5 separate regions of the Homo sapiens genome follow, and regions 2, 3, 4 and 5 are each linked to region 1. The links are contacts of gene promoters, found by promoter capture Hi-C in blood cells and fetal thymus (Javierre and others, 2016). All regions are on one chromosome and are shown on one strand. The core of a region is centred on a gene start or on the middle of the fragment in contact, and the rest is flanking DNA. Distances in the headings are between cores, read along the strand shown. Region 1 holds the start of FANCB (FA complementation group B). Region 2 has its middle 2.9 kb from the start of TCEANC. Region 3 holds the start of RAB9A (RAB9A, member RAS oncogene family). Region 4 overlaps OFD1 (OFD1 centriole and centriolar satellite protein). Region 5 overlaps OFD1 (OFD1 centriole and centriolar satellite protein).

What was found. The method cuts DNA at HindIII sites, captures the fragments that hold promoters and counts their contacts. A CHiCAGO score of 5 or more calls a contact.
Region 2: a fragment that was not itself captured here is called in contact with the fragment with the promoter of FANCB in region 1 in 5 of 17 cell types (total CD8 T cells, non-activated CD4 T cells, activated CD4 T cells and 2 more); the score reaches 8.5 in total CD8 T cells.
Region 3: a contact is called between a fragment that was not itself captured here and the fragment with the promoter of FANCB in region 1, in 1 of 17 cell types (fetal thymus). The highest score is 6.9, in fetal thymus.
Region 4: a contact is called between a fragment that was not itself captured here and the fragment with the promoter of FANCB in region 1, in 2 of 17 cell types (fetal thymus and non-activated CD4 T cells). The highest score is 6.6, in fetal thymus.
Region 5: a fragment that was not itself captured here is called in contact with the fragment with the promoter of FANCB in region 1 in 1 of 17 cell types (total B cells); the score reaches 6.0 in total B cells.

What each region holds. Positions count from the first base shown.
Region 1 is chrX:14,871,167-14,874,715 of GRCh38, forward strand. It overlaps FANCB (FA complementation group B), which reads right to left and starts at 1,903. Exons shown (of 10, transcript NM_001018113.3): 1 at 1,820-1,903. It overlaps MOSPD2 (motile sperm domain containing 2), which reads left to right and starts at 2,255. Exons shown (of 15, transcript NM_152581.4): 1 at 2,255-2,371; 2 at 2,523-2,592. The coding sequence starts at 2,363. RefSeq lists a silencer at 1,993-2,222. The HindIII fragment of the contact is 4,870 bases long and covers 1-3,498 here.
Region 2 is chrX:13,648,448-13,651,996 of GRCh38, forward strand. No RefSeq gene overlaps it. Among named protein-coding and RNA genes, the nearest start is that of TCEANC, 2.9 kb to the right of the region's middle. The HindIII fragment of the contact is 2,021 bases long and covers 642-2,662 here.
Region 3 is chrX:13,685,902-13,689,450 of GRCh38, forward strand. It overlaps RAB9A (RAB9A, member RAS oncogene family), which reads left to right and starts at 3,227. Exons shown (of 3, transcript NM_004251.5): 1 at 3,227-3,387. RefSeq lists an enhancer at 2,927-2,976 and silencers at 3,127-3,366, 3,377-3,536. The HindIII fragment of the contact is 530 bases long and covers 1,634-2,163 here.
Region 4 is chrX:13,735,444-13,738,640 of GRCh38, forward strand. It overlaps OFD1 (OFD1 centriole and centriolar satellite protein), which reads left to right. Exons shown (of 23, transcript NM_003611.3): 3 at 1,035-1,235. Among named protein-coding and RNA genes, the nearest start is that of OFD1, 2.3 kb to the left of the region's middle. RefSeq lists an enhancer at 1-218. The HindIII fragment of the contact is 763 bases long and covers 1,556-2,318 here.
Region 5 is chrX:13,767,403-13,770,951 of GRCh38, forward strand. It overlaps OFD1 (OFD1 centriole and centriolar satellite protein), which reads left to right. Exons shown (of 23, transcript NM_003611.3): 21 at 652-822; 22 at 1,316-1,383; 23 at 1,664-1,955. The coding sequence ends at 1,706. It overlaps GPM6B (glycoprotein M6B), which reads right to left. Exons shown (of 8, transcript NM_001001995.3): 8 at 3,537-3,549. Among named protein-coding and RNA genes, the nearest start is that of OFD1, 34 kb to the left of the region's middle. The HindIII fragment of the contact is 3,179 bases long and covers 63-3,241 here.

The sequences.
Region 1 (3,549 bases), core at 653-3,152:
TACGCTAAAGAAGATTTTTATGTCATATTAAGGACTTATAAATTTCTCATATAAGTAATGATAACCCACTGAAAGACTTCAAAAACAGAAATCACAGGACTGTACTTTTGAGTTATGAAGATCCTGGTGACAGTGTTAAAGGTGTGAGTGAGATCAGACTGGAAAAAGAGCTAACAATTAGAAGAAAATTATGAGTACTTAAATAAAAGGGAGAGATGACTCTGAAGGTAATTTGGCAGTCAACTGAAATGCATATACCCAGTAGTTTCATTTGTAGATATAAACCCAGAGACATAATCCCACATATGAATGAATACATTGCTCTAGAAGCTCACTGTGCTGATATTTGCAATATAAAAAAAGTAAAAACCTCAATGAACACCAATAGGGGAATGAGTATAGATGGACTATCAAACAAGAGTTAAAAGGAATGAATTAGATCTATCTATCTATATATGTGTGTGTGTGTGTGTGTATATATATATATAATCATGGTTAAATTTCAAAAATAAAATGAATTAAAAATTAAGTTGCAGACAAATGTACACTGCAGCATATTATTTATGTAAAACAAATAAAACAGCATTATATATGTTCTATTTACCTACAATGACTACAGTCCCTGAGTGCTTTCTCAAGAAATAGTGCCATGTACTATTTTTTTTTTTTTTCCTGAAGAAACAGTGCCAGGTACTGCTCTAAGCACTTTGGATTAACTCGTTTCTTCCTCACAACATCCTTATGACATAGGCACTGTTACTATCCCATTTTATAGATGGAGAAACTGAGGCAAGGAGTTTCAGGATCTTCTCAAAGGCTTGCAGATAAGAAGTGACAGAGCCAGGATTCAAACCCAGGCAGTATGATCCAAAATAAAAAAATGTAAAACTGTAAACATTTCATGCCAAATTCTGAATGCTGTTGATTCTGGACAAGGAAGTGTCCAGGATAGGTGAGTAGAGGTAGAAGGAGACTTTAGTTATATCTGAAATATCTTTTAAGGATGTAGTCAAACAACGTTTAAACAATGTGTTCATTTTTTCCCATAAAAAATGTAAATATATTTAAAAGTCTAGGACAAAAGATGCTAACATGCCATTCTGTCATGGATGACTACGGTTGATGGAAATATGGGGGACTATTCTTACAACTTGTTTGTAGTTTTCAGTATCTTTCAACTTTAAAAAAGGCAATATTGTATGCGCAACTATTTTCTTTCAATTGTTTTTAACTGACGAATAAAATTTGTTCCAGTCCCTTTAAATCTAAATCTTTCTCAACCTTGACACTATTGACATTTTGGGCTGGATAACTGTTGTGAATTTTCATGTACACTGGAGGATGTTTGGCAGCTTCCCTGGTCTCTATCCACTAGTAGCCAGTGAGCATCTCTTTTGCCCCCGGCCCCTAGCAGTGGTGACTAAAAATGTCTCCAGAGGTTGCCAAAGGTCCCCTGGGTGGTAAAACCGCCCCCCCCACACACACCCCCCCACCCCCCCGGCTGAACACAACTACCTTAATAAGCCGAAACACGCTTTTTTTAACTTTATATAATTATTTGAGATTAAAGATTTCAGAGATATTTTGCTCATTAAGCATCTCACACTCCAAGTTGGAAGGATACTGAAGGGATGAAAAAAACTTCAAGCGAATGTAGCACTTAAAATCCAATTATCATTGCAAGGAATGACAGACCCAGGTCTCGGGATGCCCGCTTCCTTCCCTCTCTCCCGCAATGCGGGGACAAGGGGAGGAAATCCAGCCCCATCGCCCCCTCTGCGAAGTCCTGGGAAGGGAAGACTCGCCAGCCCCATCCTACCTCAACGCAGCGGCAACATACCGGAGGCCCCACGTCGATACGGTATCCATCTGCTCCAAACCTCCCGCCAGCGCGCTGCATCCTGGGAGGCCGGGCGGAGGCTGCGTCGAACGCAGAGGAGGCGGAGCCTAGAAGCCAGCCAGGAGAGGTGGCCAAGGGAGGCTGAGGAGGCGGGGCCCTGGGGAGTGTTGTGAAAGCAGAGAGCCCGCGAGCTCTCTAGGGCGGAGCTCCGCGGGGGAAGCGCCGGCGATCTCGCGGCTGGCGGGGGCGGGACCGCAGTGCGGGGGATGTCGCGGGGCGAGGCCAGACGAGAATCGAATGGGACCTAGGCTGAGGGCCTGGTCCCGCCTCCAGACCCAGGCGTCCGCATTGGATTGGGCGGTGCGGCGGCGCTTCTGTCCGCCTTCCGGTGTCACGCGACCGCCTCCCCCTCCCACCCTTCTCTGTCTACCTCTGGGCGGGACTGCCGGGTGATGAGATACTCGGTCGGCGACGGTAGAACGGGCGACGGCGACAACCGCAATCACATCCACGACGGTGATCATGGCAGAGGTGAGGAGCCTATTGCACCGCCGCTGGCCCCCCGGACCCGGAAGCCGCCTCTGAGGCCCGGGGACCGAGCGCCCGTGTGCAGGTGGGCTGGGTTGAGGGTAAGCGGGTTGATGCAAGTAGTATCTAAGGTCCCATCGTGTCTCCCATCCAGAATCACGCCCAGAATAAAGCCAAGCTCATCTCTGAGACCCGGAGGAGGTTCGAAGCTGAGTATGTGACAGGTGGGTACTCTGTTCCAGGTATTAAGAAAGGTGTGCAGTGAGCATCCCCAACTTTGCTGGAGTGTTTGTGAGTGTATTTGTGGGAGGTGTTAGGGACCCTTTCGACCCTCACAGGAATGATGCTGGGCACGTCTCAAAGGTTTTCCTCTCCATGACAAGCCGTGTGCACTGCTTCAAATGGTCAAGTGGTGTGTCCCATGCTCCCTTTAAAGGGTTAATGTAAGTTGGAAATCGGTTAAGTTTTTAGCATGCCCTCGTGTTTATGGAACTTGCAGGATACTTGTTAGGCCCACAACACGGGTGACATTGTCCAGTCCACGGTTCCACTGCTGGCCTTTCACCAGCAACACTAGCGAAAATGTACCTGGAAACTGCCATAATACTATTGATGTGTACTTAATTGGGTATACAAATTCCTTGGATATTTTGTTTGATTTGGCTTTCATACAACCCAGCATGCTACCCACAAAATAGGCCCTCCAATGCTGGAACAAGTTCTTATCCCAAACTGTATCTTGCAAAGTACCTATGAGTCCAGAATTGATTTATTGGTTGAACATTCTGTGTCCAGATGTCACAGATACTTGAGTTGTCAGGTACTTAACTGAATATTTAATGCTTGTACAGTAATTTTGTAAAACATACGGAATAACTTATTGTAAATATGGAATTAAATAAGGATTTATATGTTGCCTACCTTAAGATTGATTGTAATCCTAACCCTGCCACTACATAGCTTACTTGTCTATTCTGAGCCCGTTTTCATATCTGTGAAGTGCAAATAATAAAGTTAGTAGGATTAAATTTTTTAAAAAAACATAAACCATCTAGCATGTCTTAAAATATAGTGGATTCTCAGTGAATATTTTGCCTCAGTTGTCATTTTGGTTACTGTGAAAGGAGTTAAGCTTCTACATCTTGACTAGTACTCAGCAGAGGTTCCCTGCAACTTTAAAC
Region 2 (3,549 bases), core at 402-2,901, 1.2 Mb before region 1:
GGAAGGGGAAGCAAACATATCCTTCTTCACATGGTGAAAGCAAGGAGAAGTACAGAGCAAAAGGGGAAACACCCCTTATAAAGCCATCAGATCTCATGAGAACTCACTATTACAAGAACGGCATGGTGGTAACTGCTCCCATGAATCAATTACCTCCCACCAGGTCCCTCCCACAACACATAGGCATTATAGGAACTACAATTCAAGATGAGATTTGGGTGGGGACACAGCCAAACCATATCAACCAAGAGGTGACTGAAGCCAGACTTTCTGGTCCTTCATCATTCCTCCACTAAATGTTGCCATAAATCTATGGTAGAATAACATACCTTCTAGAGAAATTAGCAAAATGGACAAATGGTATAGAAAAGGAGAATAAGAGGTATGGAACTGATCTGGAGATTACTACAGGTACAAGAAGGTGTTAAATGGGATATTTCCTGACTCAGAGTTTTGTCCAAGGCCCCAAAGGTGAGAGCACAATGTTAAGTGTCTGCTGGTTCTAATGAGAGATGTTAGACCATTTACCCAGGGCTTACTAAATGATGAGCCAAAAACTCCTGTCACCCATGCCCGTTTGCCACTCTTCAGCTTATGTACAGGAGAAGGCAACAGTGAAAGAGGGTTGTTACAGTTCTGGAAGCTTCCTTCCCACCCCCACTCCAAGGCAAGTGAGGGTGACTTTGAGAGAACCACTCAGAGAGATTGACAGGTGCCCCTGTTGTAGAATGGTGTCTGACTCTCCAAAAAAAAAAAAAAAAAAAAAAAAAAAACAATAAATAGGCGAGAAGCCAGCTAGAGCTACCTAAGACCAACTGTGAAGATGACGAGAAGGGCTGCAGAGGGAACAGCCCTGCTTCCAGGGCTGGGCGGGGAGCAGGGCCGCTGGGTTGTTCCCATGGGCTAAGTGCACATCAAGCAAGCAGCTGGGCCTAGGCTGTCTTGGAAGGACCCTGACCAACAGGCCTGCAGGTGAGGTAACCCGACAGAAAAAGTTTGTGTGGGATGTGCTACCAAAAGCAGGAGCCAGCGGTTAACCAGAGGGTGCAGCATCTGAACCATGGAATGGGTAATAAGGGGCTACCAGCAAAGGGAGGGTCCTCCAAAAAATCTCCAAAGTGGGCCCCTCCAAAGAACAAAAGAGGTATTAGGTTGGTTTAAGCAATCTGTGGCCCACCAGCCAGGGACTGCCTGACCCGTTGAACTAGCTCTTCTGGAAGCCTCTGGGGATGTTCACTGGAGATACCATGTTCGCTGCTTCTCTGTCATTTCACCTGCATAAGTCTGAGAAATATGTTGCAGAACTTAAACATAAAGTTTCTGTTTCTATAATGTATGACTTTTTGTTCTATTTCCTAATATTCTGTAACTCCTGAGATTTCAAGGGAACTCTTCATCGTTTTAATCCCATGCCTTATGTACTGTGACTTATAAGAACATCCCCAGTTAAGCCCAGTGTCTGGTCCTGGTGTTTTATCAGGAAATGAACACCGGCCGGCACCTCAGAACCCAGAAAGAGGCAGTTTCTATGACCTCATTCCATGGAAAACATCTGTAACTGTTCCCTCAGCAATGTGTAACATTAGCCTCTGGAGAAGGCCCATAAGATTTTGTCTCTCTTCCGTGGGAATTTGCAGGAAAGGGCTGTCTGCATGAGCTCAGAATATCTATTAATATATTGCCACTCAGAGACTTAATAAGGATTGAAAAGAGGTTTCCGCTGCACTAAGGGAAATTTATCAAAGAGAATTCCAGAGTATTGAAGCAGCTGAAAGATGATTTTAAAACAAAGGCCTGAAAACTATGCATGATAAATTATCATAGATGTGAGTACTTTTATAGGTATTCCATTTTTAAATTGCCCAAAAGAACAAACTTTTCAGCAACCTCTTTAGAATCCACTGGCAGCCCTAGATTCATTCCAGATGAACTCAGCCAGAAATTTCTACAGCAATGAGCATGTTCTATATCTGTGCTATCCAATATGGTACCCACTAGCCACAGGTGGCTATTGAGAACTTGACATTTAGCTAGTGCAACTGAGGAACTGAAGTTTAAATTTTATCTGAATAGCCACATGTGGCTACTGTAGTAGACAAGGCAGGACTACGCAGTAATTATAGCTTGCCTCTTAGTTGAAATAATGGTCTTATCCTTCACACCAGAGAAAACACTAGGTTGTTTTTGATTTTAGACTTTTGAGTAATTTCTGTTTTTTTCTTCAGCATAGAGTTCATGAGAAATTGATTATAATATGCCTCAAAGCTCTAATGACCACTTCTGTAGTAACTTCTAGTTTCCAAACTGACTCCTTCAGATTGAGCCTTTCATAGTTTGAGTGCCATTGTTTTGACAAATATCAGATATTTTAAGAATTGCATGTTACAAATCTGATCACAAAGAAAGTATTTTTCCTAGGTAACTGTCTAAAACTAGAGATGGTTGGTCTAGGAGCCAATAGTCCTTCGGATTTTTAAATCAGTGTTTACAAAGTGGGGCAAGAGTACTCATAAAATGAACCAAAAAAGTAACAATGAGAAGAGAAATACCATTAAAGCATGTTAAATTAAATAAGCAGGAGGCTATTGGCTCAAGGCTGTCTCTGTACTTTGATTTTCTACACAATGAATTGCAATTTAACTTAGTACATAAATACACTGAAAGCTTAACCTAAGGAAGAGTATAATAAACAGCCAAGTCTCAGCCAAACACAAGCAGACAAGCTTCAGCCAATCACAAGCTGCCAACTTCTCAGATCATATCCAAATGATCTGATCATTGATTGCAACCAATCAGCCTATTTCTGTATTTTACTTCCATTCTCTGTCTATAAATACTCACGGCCCACAAAGCTCTCTGAACCTATTCTGATTCTGAGTGCTGTCCGATTCATGAATCATTCTTTGCTCACATAAACTCTGCCAAATTTAAATTACGTCAATTTTTTTTTATTTTAACAGGCAAAAGTAAAGATTATCAAGCATTCTTTTCCAACCAAACTTTAGTCAGTCTCCTGACTAGGCCTATCTGTGCACTTCCTTGTAAAATCCAGTTTTAGCAAAAAGCCTTGATAAATCAGTTTAGCCAAAAGCAACCACCCTCAATATCTGATCACCCTTAATATCTGATTTGGTTCCTCATCCTCCACCAACCTCCAGGTGACATCTGATCACCCTGGCCCGTCTTCAGCAAGAATCTTGTCAGGTTGGTTTAGACAGAATCCCCCTTACCCCTGATGTTTCCTCTTAATAATTTTCCATCCACTGACCCCCCTACCTTGCTCCTTGGCTATAAATTCTCACTTTTCCATGCTACAATTGAAGTTGAGCCCAATCTCTCTTCCCCACTGCAAGACCCTGTTGCAGTGGTACCTATGTCTATCTCAATGGTCCTGAATAAAGTCTTCCTTACCATGCTTTAACAAGTGACAAGTGTCATTAAATAATTTTTTTTTTTTGAGACCAAGTCTTGCTCTGTCGCTAGGCTGGAGTGCAATGGCTCGATCTCAGCTCACTGCAACCTCCGCCTCCCGGGTTCAAGCGATTCTCC
Region 3 (3,549 bases), core at 649-3,148, 1.2 Mb before region 1:
CAGGTTGCCATTTGACAGTGTCCACTGGATAGAATTCATGGGACTCATGAAAGAATATATGTTTTATTTGATTGAGGGCCAGAATTTTCATTTGCTTACATCAATCTGAGTCTGGAAATTCTGAAATTTGCTCACTGGTGATATATGGATTAAGGATGATGCTCCTATTCATTTTTGCTTGAGAACTCCTTTTTAAGCAGAGCAGTGAAGAAATCCAATTTCTGGCATTTCCTTATACATTGAAATTTTATCTGACTTAAGAATCACTATCAAAAGTTCTATATTAGTGCAAGAAACATGCTGAACTTAGTATCTAGGCAAACTGGGTAAGTGTGACATTGGTATAAAATATTGAAGATGTATATATTATATAAATATGTAAGTATATAAATAAATGCATTATTAAATACGTCAATATATGTTGAAAAGCTATATATTATAAAAAACGCTTCCTCAACCAAATTGGGATTTTTCTTCCATATACTATTTGGTAATGTTCTTTTTCACTTAACATATGTTGTTATGAATTTTCACTCCGGCTTGACTTTAAAGCCAAATATAACAAATTTTGAGTTACTTTTATGTATATTTTATGCTTTTTCCCCCTCTTAGTACAGCTATAGAAGAACATCTATGCAGTATTACGACCAAATCTGTTATTTGGCCAAACAACTTAGGAAAAATATCAAATTTGTGACTATTTACATATGTAATATAATGGTGAAATGGTCTACAACTGAGTTCTGTGTTTTTCCTTGTATGTGAAAATAAAAGCAGTTCAATTATCATCAGTATTTACTGTACCCGAGTCTAGGGCCCACTTACTTGTAGCTTTTTTTTTTTCTTGAGACAGAGTCTTACTCTGTTGCCCAGGCTGGAGTGCAGTGGCACGCAATCTTGACTCACTGCAACCTCCACCTCCCGGGTTCAAGTGATTCTCCTGCCTCAGTCTCCTGAGTTGCTGGGATTACAGGCGCACGCCACCACACCCAGCTAATTTTTTTGTATTTTTAGTAGAGACGGGGTTTCACCATGTTGGCCAGGCTAGTCTCAAACTCCTGACCTCATTATCCACCGGCCTCGGCCTCCCAAAGTGCTGGGATTACAGGCGTGAGCCACCACGCCCAGCCACTTGTAGCTTTTCATCAGAGATGCCAGAAGTGATTTCTTTCAGTCTCCAGCTTGAGATGGGGTATTAACTCCTAGTACTTATAGTAATAAGTAGGTGTTATTTAAGTAAAAGAATCATTTATGCATAGCAACTTTGGCCTCTTTCTCTCCCGTGAGTGATGCATTGGTGTTTACAGAATATAAAGATGAAAATCTTCGTTAGATGAAGGGAGTCAAACTAGGTTAGTTCTTTAATGTTTTCATCAAGGAACAAGTTTATGGAGCAAGAGAGATAGCAACTGTCTATCCAACTTGCATCAGCTTACCAACCACACACATCCAATAACAAAAATCCCCCAAACTTGCCCTTCAGAGAAAAATCTTTTAACCCACTTTACTCTTGCACTGACATAGAAATGTGGTTAAGAAGTGAATGGTGGAAGAGACCAGAATATACTAACTTTCTTAAATGTCAGTTGGCTAGTATCCAACTGATAGTAATTTTAGAGAAAGTAACTTTCTAAGCTTATTCTTTCTTAAGGTACTATAAGCTACACTCAAATATGTTTGAATGCCTTCTTACATTTTGGAACAGCCTGAGAGTCACTTATGGAACCTTCTTAGAACATTTTTATGAAAGCTGTTGGGTTTGTCAAGGTTTATTTTAACTCAAAATACAATAATTTTATGAGATCACTTGTTAATAGCTAGTTGGCATTAGCAGTTGCACAGATAAACTCCTATTTGATCACTCCTTGACTATGGTTAGGATATACGATTTTCAGGTGGCATTTCTTTAATTACCCTGTGGATTGCTTGTTGCAATTTGACCCAATGTACATGACTTTTTTTTCTATTGGAAAATTAACTCTAGTGTTCATATATAATGTTTTACTGTGTACTTTTAATATGTGTTTTAAAACAAGATAGTGTATATTTCTTCTTCCCCCCAATTTAACAGATTTGTATTTTATAAACGTTTATACATATTTCCTTGGGGAAATGACCTGCAGATAAGAAATAGATTTCTGTTTATGAGAAAACAATTATTTAAGCTTATGTGTCGTTTTCAGAAGCATTCTAAAATTGCCTTTTTAATTTGTGAGGAACTTTCTCAAACATGACCTTTCTAGTGCTGAATGAAAAGTCATTACCTGAAAATGACTCCCCAAAAAGCTGGAGATTATTTAACTTGTTGTGAGCCCCAGCATCATAAAAGTGAGATCTTTGTCTTGGAAAATAAACAGACTAAATCTTTTTTAAAAAGCTTTTATTTTAGGTTTAGGGGTACATGTGTAGGTTTGTCATGTAGGTAAACTGCCTGTTGCAAGGGCTTGGTGTACGGATTATTTAGTTACCCAGGTAATAAGCATAGTACTTGATACCTAGTTTTTTTCTGCTCCTTTTCCTCCTCACACCCTCAACCCTCAAGTGGGCCCTGGTGTCTCTTGTTCCTCTCTATGTGACCATGAGTTCTCATCATTTAGCTTCTACTTATGAGTGAGAACACGCAGTATTTGGTTTTCTGATAAACAAACTAAATCACCGTACAAAACGTATTGAGATGTCCCTATGAGTCCCTCCCGCCTGTAGGGTTCTGTATCATAGGATCCATGCACTCAACTTCATACATAAAGCAAGGACTTAAGGAGAGCTTCTCCAATACCACCTTTTGCACCATCGCTTTCTATTCAGAGATGACAGAGGCAGTATTTTAACAAGATTAAAGGAAAGTTTTAATAGCTTCATTTAAAAAGTTCTTGTTTTTCCACAGTATCACAACTGTTTTCATTTTTCATCCACCTGTTTGTTCTTTGTCCGTTTGACTAGTCGTTTTTATCATTGTAATCACGACATCCTGTGACTGTGCTCATGAGGTCTGTTTATTTCCACTTTACGTAAACTTTTCAAAATGACAGTTATTTCGTACTCGCTGTCGCCCGAACGCAGACGGGAGGACACTTCAGGAGCAATCGACCCGAAGGAAAAGCACGATCCAGGCCCCGCCTGCCTCGGCTCCACCTTCCCCGCGCCCGTCCCCCAGGGTCTCGGCCGCGGGACCCCGCCTTCCAGGCCCCGCCCCGCTTTTTCCCTGGCCCCGCCCCGGCCCGTCGCCATGTTGTTCCCTCCGCGCTGGACGGGAGCAGCTGGAGCGGGAGCCTGGCTGCGCTACCGCGGCTGCCTCCTGCTGTGCAGGTCCCCGACCCTCTCTCTGTCCTCATTGCGCCCAGACGGGCCGGCCCAGAGCTCCCGGGTCGTCTTTCGTGTGGCCGCGAGGTGAGCGGGACTCGGGACTCCTTCGGGACCGGGCGGAGTGCGCGGGTGTCGGGGTCTGAGGGGGCGGCTCGGGCCTCGGGCAGCTGGGGCGGGGTGCGGTGCGCGCGGGGCTAGCGCGGGTCACAAGGCCGCCCCGGGAGAGAGGACGGCTGGTTGTCTCCC
Region 4 (3,197 bases), core at 687-3,186, 1.1 Mb before region 1:
TACATAGATTGTATTGGTGAATTACATTTTTATATTCCCGAATAACTCTGTATCCTGAAACATTACAGTCTCTTGAAAATGTTTGAGAAAATGTTGAGTTTGAGTCGTCTTAAAGGAGCATATTCAAATAATTAATTGAACTGACAATAAGATAGGAGAAGGAAATATTTGTATAATGAACACAGTAAGATTAGGCTTGTTTTATAAATATGGCTTATAGGTTCCTAAATTAATAAGTGGGTTTGTAATACATTTGGATGAAGGACATTGACACCATATAGAAAATACTAGTGTACTGCTTAATAATAGTTTGGGAAATGAAAAATTTTATCTTTAAACTATATTGAAATGTATGAATGTTTAGTTTGGGCAGAAAATACCTATTAGTATGCTTTATATTTGGATTAACAGCCAGGAGTAGGATTAGCTCAACGTGTTTTCATTGAAATATGCATTTCAAAAGCATATTTTACGTTTAAAATATGTAGCTATATCCTGTGTATGTATCCTTTTTTAATTTAAATTATATGGTGAGCATTTCCCTGTTTCCTTAAAAGTTTTTTGAAATCTTCATTTTCAGTGGCAACAGGCTTATCTTTGGATATTTTTGTAATGTATATAGCAGTCCCCTGTTGTTGAATATTTTGGTTATATTCTCCAACAGTCCACAGAGGTGTGATGAAGTGGCAGAATTTTTTCCTATACTTAATATCCCAATCGTAAGCTGCTGAAATGGGCTTCTAGGGAAGTGAAGTTATGAGTCTGCAAGTGGATCTGGCTAACCACCCGTTTCATTTGGAAGCTGGGGAAAGAAAGCTTTTTCTAGAACCCACTGGACTGCTTGTCTCACGGGGTAAGACAAAGTGTGCAGGGGAAGGTTTCTAACTTCTGGCCATGGATCTAGAACCATTATGGAAATAGAAGGAAGGTTTCCAATGAATGTAGCTCATCTGTGTATATCTCTAATGAAACAGTCCTGCTGAAATTTCTTTCCCTTGTGTTTCTTTTTTATTTTTGTTTTTATTTTATGCTAGACACAACTTCGAAACCAGCTAATTCATGAGTTGATGCACCCTGTATTGAGTGGAGAACTGCAGCCTCGGTCCATTTCAGTAGAAGGGAGCTCCCTCTTAATAGGCGCCTCTAACTCTTTAGTGGCAGATCACTTACAAAGATGTGGCTATGAATATTCACTTTCTGTTTTCTTTCCAGAAAGTGGTTTGGCAAAAGAAAAGGTAAAGTCTTTCCTTTTCTGTTTCTGAAGTTTTTATTAACAGGTTCTTCCTCTGCTGACAGTAAAGTGCTGTATGATAGCTAAGTGCTCCTCGACTAGGTCCATTTCTGTTTCCTCTTTGAATTCACATTGTACCTGCACATAATATATTTGTTATATAACAAGTGGGTACTAAATTTGAAATTAATTTCTTGGCGTCTCATTTAGTCTCACATAAAACAGTGATGTATAGAATCTCTAAATGTTTCAGACCTATAATTGATCTATCTATCCTCTATCTTGTCTAATAAGACTCTGCCAATCTGCTGAATGTCTGCTGTAAGCTTGGCACTGTGATAGGCACACTGCAGATGTTTTGTGTGTTACGGATGAGGAACCAGACTCTGGAGAGGTGAATCAATTTGCCCAACATCAAGTAACTTTTAAGTGACAATGCAGGGTGGTAAATCTAGATCTCTAACATGAGCTCTTTTTTTCCTGCACTAGTTTCTTCAGATGTTTCTCTTTGTAATTAGATAAGTGAGAAATACGTAATTTAAAAAATCTGTAAAGTTCTCAAATATTAAAAACACTTGTTTTTTTTTTTTACTACTTTTCTAATTATTTTAACTATATTTCTTCACCATTACTGTTGAACATTAGTACTACTTTATTATTTTAAAGGCAGATACAGCAGACTTTCCCTGTGGATATGTGCGTGTTTTTTTTTTTTTAATAGACTTTATTTTTTCAGAGCAGTTTTGGGTTCACAGCAAAGTTAAGTGGGAAGTACAGAGAATTCCCATATACCTGCTGCCCCTACACACTCATAGCCTCCCCCACTGTCAACATCTTGCATCAAGGTGGTACATTTGCTACAATCTATAAGCCTACCCTGACATGTCATTATCACCCAGAGGCCATAGTTTACAGTGAAGGTTGCAGTGAGCCGAGATCATGCCACTGCACTCCAGCCTGGGTGACAGAGCGAGACTGTCTCAAAAATAAAATAAATTTCACTCTTGGTGGTGTTCATATGTTTTTACTTTCTTTGTGTTTTCTGTAATTATCCAAAAGTTTCATATTCCAAAGTTTTAGTGACACAAGCTTAGTACAGTATTTGAATGAAAACTTAAATAATTTGCATTTCTTCATAAGCAACCAAATTTTATTTGTCAGCATTAGGAATTTATTTATTAATTTATGTTTTTGAGACAGAGTCTTGCTCTGTTACCCAGTCTGGAGTGCAATGGCGCAGTCTTGGCTCACTGCAACCTCTGCCTCCTGTGTTCAAGCAATTCTCCTGCCTCAGCCTCCCAAGTAGCTGGGATTACAGGTGCCCACCACTACACCTGGCTAACTTTTTTATTTTTAGTAGAGAGGAGGTTTCACCATGTTGGCCAGGCTGGTCTCGAATCCTGACCCCAGGTGATCTGCCCACCTCAATCTCCCAAAGAGCTGGGATAACAAGCATGAGCCCTCGTGTCTGGCCTGGAATTCATTTTTGATACATCATTCTCTAACTTTCTAATCACTTTATACTTTTACTTATTGTGTAATAGTCAATAATACAATTATATAGCAGGAATTAATCCTATTCATACAACTTAACGGTTTCTACTAATGTAAAATGCCCATGCAGAATATTTACTTTAAAGGAAAACCAATTGAAAACAAATATCAGTGTTCTCAGAGCAGACATAGTGAATGGTATATACTGTAGTAGAAATATATTTTAATAGCTACCCAAAATGTCTGTTAAACAATATTTTAAGTACACTTTAATTACGGTTTTAAGGACAGTAAAAATCTATTTACATTTTTAAACAATGAATACTTTTTAAAAAATTGTAATTGAATGACCCAGGAACTCAGTCATGTAGTCATTGGTTCATCAGATATTTCAGTGTCATCTGTAAGGCATTAAACATTTAGGCATATCATCTTTGATGTGAAGTACTTAGAAGTTAATTAGATGATAAAG
Region 5 (3,549 bases), core at 402-2,901, 1.1 Mb before region 1:
TAAAAGGCATCCCTGTCCTCTCCTTGTCTTAAAAGCAGTGGGAAAGGCTGCACAGAATGTGAAGCTTAGGAGTTTTGTAGTAAAGGATAGTTTTTGAAGGTAATTTTTGTACATTCTCATCTGATCCTTAAAACAAGCCTGTAAAAAAGGTAGACTGTGCTTTGCTGCAGAACTTTGCTTTGAAAACAGGGTTTAAAGAAGAGACTGTCAGTGCCAGCTAGCTGGGACTAGAACCCAAGGGAGGAGTGGCTGCCAGTTCACAGTTGCTTCCAGGGGCACACACTCCCTCCCTCCTTCCTCTATTTCTCTTCTTGCCTTCTGTGTCCCAATTCTAGTCCTAGCAGATGGATTACTCTGTCCACTTAACACACCTGCTAAGTCTTGCTTGAATTACTCTAACATATGAATGTTCCTTGGACTCTTGGTTAATTCAAGTCCAAAGCACAGGACACTTGCCAATTAATACCTTCCTTCATTGAGATGACATATTTGTCTTCCTTTGATGATAGCAATGACTTCAATTTTAAAAATTAGTCCTCTGGCATACAGGCTGTACTTGAAGGATCGGGATTAATATTAGTGCATTTTTAAAACACTTAAAAGTTTTACAAATGTATTTGTGTATTTTCTGTTTTGGTGCCTGTTTTATAGAAGATGATTGAAGAATCACTGAAGATTAAAATAAAAAAGGAATTAGAAATGGAAAATGAATTAGAAATGAGTAATCAAGAAATAAAAGACAAATCTGCTCACAGTGAAAATCCTTTAGAGAAATACATGAAAATCATCCAGCAGGAGCAAGACCAGGAGTCGGCAGATAAGGTGCCAGTGCCATGGGCAGGGCAATCTGTGGGTGGGGGACATCCAGGGCTTCCGTGGCTTAACTTCTTGGGACGGGAATCCGTCTTCTCCATTGAAGACAAAAAGGTGAAAAGTATAGAAAATCCAAAGTTCAAATGGAACCTTGAGTCTTTTAAATATACTATTCTTTTGACAAAAATTCATAGCTTTTTTGCTTAAGGTAAAAGATTTAAGAGATTTTAATTTGTAAAAGTTGGGGTGGCTCATTAAGAAAGAAAAGATCTATCAAATGCATTAATACTGACATTAATATTTTATGTAAGTCTGAAGTATTATGGGTGTTAAATGCATACCCTATAGTTTATTTTGATGTGCTTGCTAAATTTCATGTTTAAAAGTCACCTCTTTTTTAGACTTTTAAATTACATATATATTTCAAAAATGGTTCTTAAAGTATTTCATGAAATTAATGCATATCTAATTTCAAAATTTTCCACCCTCTCCATGTAATCAGAGCTCAAAAAAGATGGTCCAAGAAGGCTCCCTAGTGGACACGCTGCAATCTAGTGACAAAGTCGAAAGGTACCTGTTTTCCCTACACACTTTCATACACAAACTGTTAATTGCTTATTTTGTCAGCCAAGAGAAACAGATGTTTGAGATTGCCTGTAAGAAGTTATTGAATCAGTCAAAATTAGTGACTATAAAAACAATTGAGTTTTTTGACTTGTGAAATTGATCCTGATATAAATTGTAAACTAGGGCAGAAACCCCCCAGGGAAGGAATTGAGAACATTATGAAGATAGCAAATAAACTTGACACAAATTTTTACATTTTAATTTTTATCTTTCCCTAATTTAGTTTAACAGGCTTTTCTCATGAAGAACTAGACGACTCTTGGTAACCATGTTTGCTGCCCAGCTTCTAACTTACATACCGTGAGAAGTTACGTAACATTTACTCCTTTGTAAATGTTTCCCTATCATCAGACAAAACTCAATAAAAATGTGTGTAATCCAATGTGGGTTTTTTTTTCCATAATTAATTTTGATACCATAGTGTGTGAACCAAGAATAATCTAGTCACGTGAAACCTCTTCTCCAGTCATAGTATTTCTCATTCATTATAATAAAAGTAACTGGCTTTTAACCTCCTTATTTTTGTCTTAAATTTATAAATGAGTATAACCTATCTTACTGCTCAACTGCAGGCCTACATTTTGGAAGTATAAGCTGTGTTCTTTCCTCTCCAAAGTTGGGCTGCCACCTGTAAAACAGGAGGTCATTTTTCCTAGCACACTCCTGTTTTGTCCCTGAACATAAAAACAGATTTTTCTAGGCATTAGAAATAGTAAGAAAGATACTGCCTCTGGTCTTTACTTCTGATGTCTGTGGTTTGTATGTATGTGTCCCTCCAAAATTCATATGTTGGAATTTAAACCCCCCCGTGTGATAGAATTAAGAGGTGGCACCTTTTGCAGGTGACTAAGAGTGGGATTAGTGACCTTATAAAAGGGCTCAATGGAACTAGCTAGGCCCTTTTGCCCTTGCACCATTTGAAGACACTGCATTGATCCCCTCTGGAGAACACAGCAACAAGGCACCATCTTGGAAGCCGAGACCGGGCCTTCACCAGACATCGAACCTGCCAGTGCCTTCCTTGATCTTCGACTTCCCAGCCTCTAAAACTGTAAGAAATACATTTCTGGTCTTTGTAAGTTACCCAGTCTAAGGTATTTTGCTATAGCAGCAGGAACAGACTGAGATAGCATCTTTATTATGGAACCTTTGGTCCTCATACTTAATGAATGGGCGTATTTCCTTTGTTTTTAAATGAATGGGCTCCTTCCCTATAATTGACTTCATCTCTTAAAAAATCAAGTTTTACAAGGCAGAACTGGAAAAAAATCTCTACTGAACCCTCTAAAGGGTCCTAGGTTTCGTGGCAGGATCACTATGGGTAATTAAGAGGCTGCTTGTGATTTTATCTAACCATTATTTACAGTTTTCCTCTGGTGACTCATGTGACTTAAATAATTGCACAAAATGCTACTTAAACAGAAGATACTAAGTAGTGTGACAAATAGCACACTAATTGAGCCTCCTGATTGTTCTGCCATGCATGAAGGAAGGGTGATGATCTAGAGTCAGCACCTCATTTAGGAATGGCCATGTGTCAATAGTGACAAAGGCTGGGCCTCACTAAGAAAGGTCAGACGCAGAGAATCCAAATGCATAATCATGTTGAGAGGTAAGAGTTTAAACAGATTATAAAATAAAATCCTAAGTAACATATTTAGCTTGGCTACTCTAGAGAGTCAACTGTTAGAACTAGGTTTTTTTGTATTCCAGAGTAAATCTTTCAATAGACTTTTGTACCTTTGGTTTGAAAAATAACTACACACATGCCCTTATTTTGTTTCTGCTTTGCCCACGTTTAAGCTTTGTTGATCCTATAGGTAGATGGCATTTATTTGTTGAAAAACTAGTCAGAAAAATTCTTACTTTATAGAGAACTACAGACGTGCTAGTGGCACTTTTATGCCCAATACAGCCCAGTGGATTATTTAATATTTTCTTTAATTGCTGAAGAGATTTTTGCCAGAAATAAAACAATTAGCACTCACAGATTTGATTTCCATACCAATGTGAAATCTTGACTCTGCACATTATTCAAAAGTGAAACCATACTGAGAACAAAGAAAGATAGGATTTATGTATGGTAAAAAGGCAAGTGAATGAAGCTAT